3 separate regions of the Homo sapiens genome follow, and all the other regions are linked to region 2. Evidence: promoter capture Hi-C in human tissues and cell types (Jung and others, 2019). All regions are on one chromosome and are shown on one strand. Each heading gives the region's core, a stretch centred on a gene start or on the middle of the fragment in contact. The rest is flanking DNA. Distances are from core to core; before and after follow the strand shown. Region 1 has its middle 54 kb from the start of ZNF704. Region 2 holds the start of ZNF704 (zinc finger protein 704). Region 3 overlaps ZNF704 (zinc finger protein 704).

Region 1 (2,853 bases), core at 289-2,788, 54 kb before region 2:
TCAAAACTACATGAGATATAGCAGAGAAAGACTCTACATTAAAAACAACAACAACAACTATGCCAGCTACCTCTTCACAAACACTAGGATGTCTCTATTCAGAAAAACAGATGGCTGGGCACAGCGGCTCATGCCTGTAATCCCAACACTTTGTGAGGCCCAGGCAGGAGGATCACTTGAGGCCAGGAATTAAAGACCAGTCTGACCAACATGCTAAAACCCCGTCTCTACTAAAAATACAAAAATTAGCCAGGTGTGGGGGTGTACCTGTAGTCCCAGCTGCTCAGGAGGCTGAGGTAAGAAAATCATTTGAACCTGGGAGGCAGAAGTTACAGTGAGCCGAGATCGCACCACTGCACTCCAGCCTGAGTGACAGAATGAGACCCTGTCTCAAAAAAGAACAACAAACAGATAATGTGGAGAAATTGGAAGCTTCATACACTGCGAGTGAGGATGTGAGGTGGTGCAGCCACTTTAGAACACACTCTGTCAGTTCCTCAAAGAGTTAAACATAGAGTTACCGTATCACCCAGCGGCACTACTCGTAGGTATCAACCCAAAAGAAATGAAAACATAGGACCACACCAAAACTTGTACATGAATGTTCGCATTAGTATTACTCATAATAGCCAAAAAGTGGAAACAACTCAAATGTCCATTAACTAATGAATAAATAAACAAAATATGGTATATCAATAAAGTGAAATGTTATTCAGCAATAAAAAGGAATGAAGCAGTGGAAAGTGCTACAATAGAGATGAACCCTGGAACATTATGCTAAATGGAAGAGGCCAGTCACAAAGGACCATATATTACATTATTCCATTTATATAAAATGTCCAAAATAGTCAATTATGGTTACAAAGGACAACCTACTGTATCCTCATGGTGGTGAAGCCATTCTGTATTTTGACTTTGGTGGTAAATATGCCAGCCTACACAGGCAATAAAAATTGCATAGTGCTAAATACAAACACACACATGCACAGACATAGACACACACATAAGCCCAAGTAAAATGGAGAAAATCTGAGTAAGATTTGTATCAATGTCAATATGCTAGTCTTAATGTCGTATTACAGTTTTACAAGATGTTATCATTGAGGGAAATTGACAAAGGATACACAGAATTTCTCTGTATTACTTTTTACAACCACATGTGAATCTAAATTATCTCAAAATAAAAAGTTTGATTAATAATAAATAAAATAATACAATAAAATAACTTTTTGACCAAAAAAAAAAAAAACCACTGAGCAGAAGAAAATAAAAAAAAAAAGGGATTATAGTATGCAGAAGACACAAAGCCTAACCTAGCTAACACTTTTTTTTTTTTTTTTGAGGTGGAGTCTTACTCCCGTCATGCAGGCTGGAGTGCAGTGGCATGATCTCGGCTCACTGCAACCTCTACCTCCCAGGTCAAGCGATTCTCCTTCCTCAGCCTCCCAAGTCGGTGGGATTACAGGCACGCACCACCACACCTGGCTAATTTTTGTATATTTAATAGAGATGGGGTTTCATCATGTTGGCCAGGTTGGTCTTGAACTCCTGACCTCAGGTGATCCACCTACCTCGGCCTCCCAAGGTGCTAGGATTACAGGTGTGAGCCAACACACCCGCCCCTAAAAATTTAACTTAAGCCAATAGAAGCATATTAATCACACTCATTTCTTGCTAGAGTAAATTGGAATAAAAATATCAAATCAGTAAGGCAACAAGAAAATGAGATTTTAAAAAGAATTTCTTATAAAATACAACATTATAGAGCTAATATAAAATTAAAACAATAAAAACTGGTGAATATTAAATTACTGACAATATCGCAAATAAAAAAATTAAATAGGAGACAATATATGTGGTAGATAAACATAATCCAATATAAGAAGAATTGATGTATCTGAATTGAAAAACCACAAAATAGAAGATATATTCAAAGATATAAGAGAATTATCTGAATTTTAAGATATCACTGAAACTGCAGATAAAATTGAACCATGTTCCAGGAACATTCCAATTCAGTTAATATCAAAGTTTACCCTATGTACAGTATTGAACTTGAAGAAAATCTTCAGGCACCTGCCAGGCAAGATAAATTACCTAGAAGGAAGAAAATCAAGTTGGTTTCAGACTTGCTGCAACATCATTCACTGCCAAAAAATAATAAAGCACTGAAATCAGGCTTACTCACTATAAAAATATGGCTCTGTGTACATCTTACTCCAGACAAGTATAGGCAATAGAAACAATAAAGCAGAAGACTGAAGCTGTAAATTTGTGTCATGGCAATATAACAAAGAAAGGAATGTGAGAAAAATTTAATGAGCTCATTTTCTGAAACTGCAGGTAGTATGAAATTAATAATGAAATATGATCAGTAGTTTAGGGGATACAATACAGATATTATCAATCAGCAATTACTTTTGTGTCCAGAATTTTACTGCAACCCTCCACACCCCTATAGCTATGTCTCACTTTATGGAGAGAAGTTCAATGCTCAGTGAGGTTAACTTGCTCTGAATCACACAGGTAGGCCCACAATTTGAACTCCGTTCTACCTAACTCAAGGCCGATTCTTACTTAACAAAACCATGTAATCTTATGTCTAGATGGTGAAATTATACATGGTTTCAATTTTCTTGTTTTCGCTTATTTTTTTTCTGAAGTTTCAACAATAACATATGCTGCTTTTGCTATTTTTTTAAAAAGTAGGAATCTTTAAAGATTCACACAAAGGTTATTTTTCATAGGAGCAATATATAATCTCTAATCTTTGGAATTTTAACTTTCATGATGCCAGGATAGTGGTTGAAACTGGTTGGTCATTTTTCTCACCTTTTTACTCTTTTTTTGTGG
Region 2 (2,821 bases), core at 122-2,621:
AAAGGGAGGGTGTGTGGGTGAGAAAATGGGTGTGTAGAACTGTTAGAAACTTCCACTTTTGAAGTCACAAAATGCTGTAAGAGCTTTGGGAATGGAAAGGAAGGGGTGGATTCAAAATGCATTTTAGAAAGAACAATGGGTTGGACTTGTGGGCAATTGCCTCTAGGGATAAGGTAGAGAAGGGAGTTAAAATGATACCGCTATTTTGGGCTCAAATGATTATAATGAGAGTTTCATCACCTGAAATAGGTACATCAGGAAGCTAATCTGATTCAGGGAGAACAAAAAGTTCATTTTAGAATCTTTGTCATCATCCCTGTTCAACAGTTGGAAGCCACCATAAGTGAGCATTTAATGAGCCCCATTCAAGTGTCTAACAGAGCATATGATGTTAAATGTCCAACAATAATTAACTGAAGGTGAATACACCTTTTATTCTGGCCCCACGGAGGTGCCTACCAGGGTATTTGATGCGTAAGATCCTCCCCAGCCCTCCTCTACAGGGATGGAATTGGGGGTATGATTTGAATGTAAGAAATACGACTTAAGGCCGGGCACGGTGGCTCACACCTGTAATCCCAGCACTTTGGGAGGCCAAGGCAGGCAAATCATCTGAGGTCAGGAGTTTGAGACCAGCCTGGCCAACATGGTGAAACCCTGTCTCTACGAAAAATACAAAATTAGCATGGCATGGTGGAGCGCGCCTTTAATCCCAGGTACTCAGGAGGCTGAGGCAGGAGAATCGCTTGAACCCAGGTGGCGGAGGTTACAGTGAGCCCAGACCATGACATTGCACTCCAGCCTTGGCAACAAGAGCGAAACTCCATCTGAAAAATAAAGAAATATATATAAATAAAAATTAAAATAAATAAAAGAAGAAATACCACTTACTACATAGCCTAACCCCACGCAATAGCAAATATATTTTCTTTATCACACCTAAAAATCGTCAGAAAATGGCAAAATTAGTCATGTTATGTGCTTGATTTCCAGATTTGGTCTTACTTCATATTAATTTCTTAAGTAACCAACTCAAACGATCTTGAACTCCCACCCATTTGTTTCTTCAAAGTCCTGAACAATGCCAGAAGAGAGTCTACAGATCAGACAGTGCAAACAGAAAGCTTCTTGGAATTCAGCCATTAAAATCAGGCACTCAAGGTAGAATAGCAGGAGTAAAAGCTGAAAGACCTACACACTCAGCACAGAGCCAAGGCAGCTCAATCGCAGGGCCTAGAGTGGTGCGTTCAAAGAGTGTGAGATTGGTAGACAATCGCTCATGAAACAGTGTTTCGAAAATCTAAGCGACTCTGATGATTCATATTAGGAATTCATCCCAAACCTCAGATTGGTACACCTTCCTTGATTTCACACAAGCTCAGGAGTAGCTGCCATGCACATCAGTGTCCATTAAAATGACTTGTAGCAAATCTCTACGTTCAAAGTCTAACTTTGACAGACAACCTTACTTCCAGCGAAGTCTACTCCCCTCCCTCCGGAGGGAAGAATGGGCTGCGGTTAAGCGTTTGCCCTGGTGTCAGGGCCAACTGCTTCGAAGCGCCAGACTTTCGGAGACTGTGGGTAAGAGAAAAAAAAAATCCAGTCCGGGTTTTGTCTGAGCGGGGGGACCGGAGGGTTGTGAGGAATGGCTCGCGAAGAGGGGGGCGGTGGTGGAAAACATACAACACAAACAGCTCGCGCCGAGGCACGGCAGCGGTAGGCCCGGAGCGCGCGGGCGCAGCCGGCCGGGAGAGGCGCGCGCGGGCTCGGCCGCCGGCCGCATGGAGCGCAGCGCGGCCCGCGGCTCCCGGGCGGCGGCGGCGGCGGCGGAGGCGGCAGCGCGCCGCTCGCTCACACCCACCCCCGCCCGCGGCCGCCGCGCCGCCCCGCCGTAGCCGCCGGCCGCCGGCGTCCCCGCCGGCCGGTCCAGCGAAGGCGGCGCCCGCGCCTCTGCAGCCAGTGGCAGCCGCGGGTCCTGGCCGGCGGCTCCTGCAGCCCCTTGCGGCCGCGAGTCCCCGGCCCTGCGGCCACCGGCGGAGGCAGAGGAGGAAGAGGAGGTGACAAACTCTCCGGCCCCGCGCCGCGGCCCGCAACCCCGCGCTCAGGCATGCAGGCGCGGCGTCTAGCCAAGCGCTCCAGCCTGGGCAGCCGCCGGGGGGGCGCCGCGCTGCAGCCTGCCGGGCCGGCGCCCGCGCCCGCCAAGGAAGCCGCCCTACCCGGGCTCCCGCCCCCTGTCCCGGGCCCGGCCCCGGCGCCCGCCCCGGAGAGCTGGAGGCCGCCGCTGCCGCCGCCGCCGCGCAGCGCCGGGACCGGCCCCCCTCGGGCCACCGGGGCCGCCGCCGCCGCCTCGTCGCCGGTGCTGCTGCTTCTAGGGGAGGAAGACGAGGACGAGGAGGGCGGGAGCAGGCGGCGGAGGGGGCTCGGGCGTGTGGAGGAGAAGCCCCGAGGGGGCGCGGAGGAGGAGGATGACGACGAGGAAGAGGAGGACGAGGAGGTGGTCGTCGAGGTGGTGGACGGCGACGAAGACGACGAGGACGGCGAGGAGCGTTTCGTGCCCCTCGGACCCGGCCACGCAGTCCCCAGGGGCCCGGCCCGGGGCGCGTTGAAGGTGCGTGTTGGGCGCGGTGGCGCGCGTGGGACCCGCCAGCCCGGGGAGGGGGACGGGCCCGGGCCCCGGGGCAAGGCGCCTGGCCGAGGACGGTCAGCGGCGCCGGGGAGAGACCCGGCCAGGAGGGGTGTGTCAGGCGGCGCGGGCGGCCGCGCGGGGCAGCGCGAGGAACTGTTGATTTGCCTGCGCCTTGGGCCCCTGCGTCTCTCCCAG
Region 3 (2,700 bases), core at 89-2,588, 48 kb after region 2:
TGTTTTAGTCATGAAGTCCTTGCCCATGCCTATGTCCTGAATCGTATTGCCTAGGTTTTCTTCTAGGGTTTTTATGGTTTTAGGTCTAACATTGAAGTCTTTAATCCATCTTGAAATAATTTTTGTATAAGGTGTAAGGAAGGGATCCAGTTTCAGCTTTCTACATATGGCTAGCCAGTTTTCCCAGCACCATTTACTAAATAGGGAATCCTTTCCCCATTTCTTGCTTTTGTCAGTTTTGTCAAAGATCAGATGGTTGTAGATGTGTGGTATTATTTCTGAGGGCTCTGTTCTGTTCCATTGGTCTATATCTCTGTTTTGGTACCAGCACCATGCTGTTCTGGTTACTGTAGCCTTGTAGTATAGTTTGAAGTCAGGTAGCGTGATGCCTCCAGCCTTGTTCTTTTGGCTTAGGATTGACTTGGCAATGTGGGCTCTTTTTTGGTTCCATATGAACTTTAAAGTAGTTTTTTTCCAATTCTGTGAAGAAAGTCTTGGTAGCTTGATAGGGATGGCATTGAATCTATAAATTACCTTGGGCAGTATGGCCATTTTCATGATATTGATTCTTCCTATCCATGAGCATGGAATATTCTTCCATTTGTTTGTGTCCTCTTCTATTTTGTTGAGCAGTGGTTTGTAACTCTCCTTGAAGAGGTCCTTCACATCCCTTGTAAGTTGGATTCCTAGATATTTTATTCTCTTTGAAGTAATTGTGAATGGGAATTCACTCATGATTTGGCTGTTTGTCTGTTATTGGTGTATAGGAATGCTTGTGATTTTTGCACATTGATTTTGTATCCTGACACTTTCCTGAAGTTGCTTATCAGCTTAAGGAGATTTTGGGCTGAGATGATGGGGTTTTCTAAATATACAATGATGTCATCTGCAAACAGGGACAATTTGGCTTCCTCTTTTCCTAATTGAATGCCCTTTATTTCTTTCTTCTGCCTGATTGCCCTGGCCAGAACTTCCAACACTGTGTTGAATAGGAGTGGAGAGAGAGGGCATCCATGTCTTGTGCCAGTTTGCAAAGGGAATGCTTCCAGTTTTTGCCCACTCAGTATGATATTCGCTGTGGGTTTGTCATAAATAGCTCTTATTATTTTGAGATATGTCCCATCAATACCTAATTTATTGAGAGTTTTTAGCATGAAGGGTTGTTGAATTTTGTTAAAGGCCTTTTCTGCATCTATTGAGATAATCATGTGGTTTTTTTCTTTGGTTCTGTTTATATGATGGATTACATTTATTGATTTGTGTATGTTGAACCAGCCTTGCATCCCAGGGATGAAGCCAACTTGCTTGTGGTGGATAAGCTTTGTGATATGCTGCTGGATTCGGTTTGCCAGTATTTTACTGAGGATTTTTGCATTGATGTTCATCAGGGATATTGGTCTAAAATTCTCCTTTTTTGTTGTGTCTCTGCCCGGCTTTGGTATCAGGATGATGCTGGCCTCATAAAATGAGTTAGGGAGGATTCCCTCTTTTTCTATTGATTGGAATAGTTTCAGAAGGAATGGTACCAGCTCCTCTTTGTACCTCTGGTAGAATTCGCCTGTGAATCCGTCTGTTCCTGGACTTTTTTTGGTTTGTAGGCTATTATTGCGTCAATTTCAGAGCCTGTTATTGGTCTATTCAGGGATTCAACTTCTTCCTGGTTTAGTCTTGGGAGGGTATATGTGTCCAGTTATTTATCCATTTCTTCTAGATTTTCTAGTTTATTTGCATAGAGGTGTTTATAGTATTCTCTGATGGTAGTTTGTATTTCTGTGGGATCGGTGGTGATATCTCCTTTATGATTTTTTATTGTGTCTATTTGATTCTTCTCTCTTTTCTTCTTTGTTAGTCTTGCTAGTGGTCTATCAATTTTGTTGATCTTTTCAAAAAACCACCTCCTGGATTCATTGATTTTTTTGAAGGGTTTTTTGTGTCTCTATTTCTTTCAGTTCTGCTCTGATCTTAGTTATTTCTTGCCTTCTGCTAGCTTTTGGATGTGTTTGCTCTTGCTTCTCTAGTTCTTTTAATTGTGATGTTAGGGTGTCAATTTTAGATCTTTCCTTCTTTCTCTTGTTGGCATTTAGTGCAATAAATTTCCCTCCAGACACTGCTTTAAATGTGTCCCAGAGGTTCTTGTATGTGGTGTCTTTGTTCTCATTGGTTTCAAAGAACATCTTTATTTCTCCCTTCATTTCGTGATGTACCCAGTAGTCATTCAGGAGCAGGGTGTTCAGTTTCCATGTAGTTGAGTGGTTTTGAGTGAGTTTCTTAATCCTGAGTTCTAGTTTGATTGCACTGTGGTCTGAGAGACAGTTTGTTATAATTTCTGTTCTTTTACATTTGCTGAGGAGTGCTTTACTTCCAACTATGTGGTCAATTTCGGAATAAGTGCAGTGTGGTGCTGAGAAGAGTGTATATTCTGTTGATTTGGGGTGGAGAGTTCTGTAGATGTCTATTAGGTCTGCTTGGTGCAGAGCTGAGTTCAATTCCTGAATATCCTTGTTAACTTTCTGTCTTGTTGATCTGTCTAACATTGACAGTGGGGTGTTAAAGTCTCCCATTATTATTGTGTGGGAGTCTAAGTCTCTTTGTAAGTCTCTAAGGACTTGCTTTATGAATCTGGGTGCTCCTGTATTGGGTATATAAATATTTAGGATAGTTAGCTCTTCTTGTTGAATTGATCCCTTTACCATTATGTAA

What was found. Contacts are between HindIII fragments. The study calls those that stand out against the background at their distance.
Region 1: a contact is called between a fragment that was not itself captured here and the fragment with the promoter of ZNF704 in region 2, in 3 of the 25 tissues and cell types used here (bladder, hippocampus and liver).
Region 3: a contact is called between a fragment that was not itself captured here and the fragment with the promoter of ZNF704 in region 2, in 2 of the 25 tissues and cell types used here (adrenal gland and dorsolateral prefrontal cortex).

The regions. Positions count from the first base shown.
Region 1 is chr8:80,927,060-80,929,912 of GRCh38, reverse strand. No RefSeq gene overlaps it. Among named protein-coding and RNA genes, the nearest start is that of ZNF704, 54 kb to the right of the region's middle. The HindIII fragment of the contact is 4,418 bases long and covers 1-2,853 here.
Region 2 is chr8:80,873,331-80,876,151 of GRCh38, reverse strand. ZNF704 (zinc finger protein 704) reads left to right here and starts at 1,371. Exons shown (of 9, transcript NM_001033723.3): 1 at 1,371-1,581. RefSeq lists a silencer at 2,492-2,692. The HindIII fragment of the contact is 4,011 bases long and covers 1-2,821 here.
Region 3 is chr8:80,825,335-80,828,034 of GRCh38, reverse strand. The region is part of intron 1 of ZNF704 (zinc finger protein 704); the gene reads left to right. Among named protein-coding and RNA genes, the nearest start is that of ZNF704, 48 kb to the left of the region's middle. The HindIII fragment of the contact is 5,386 bases long and covers 1-2,700 here.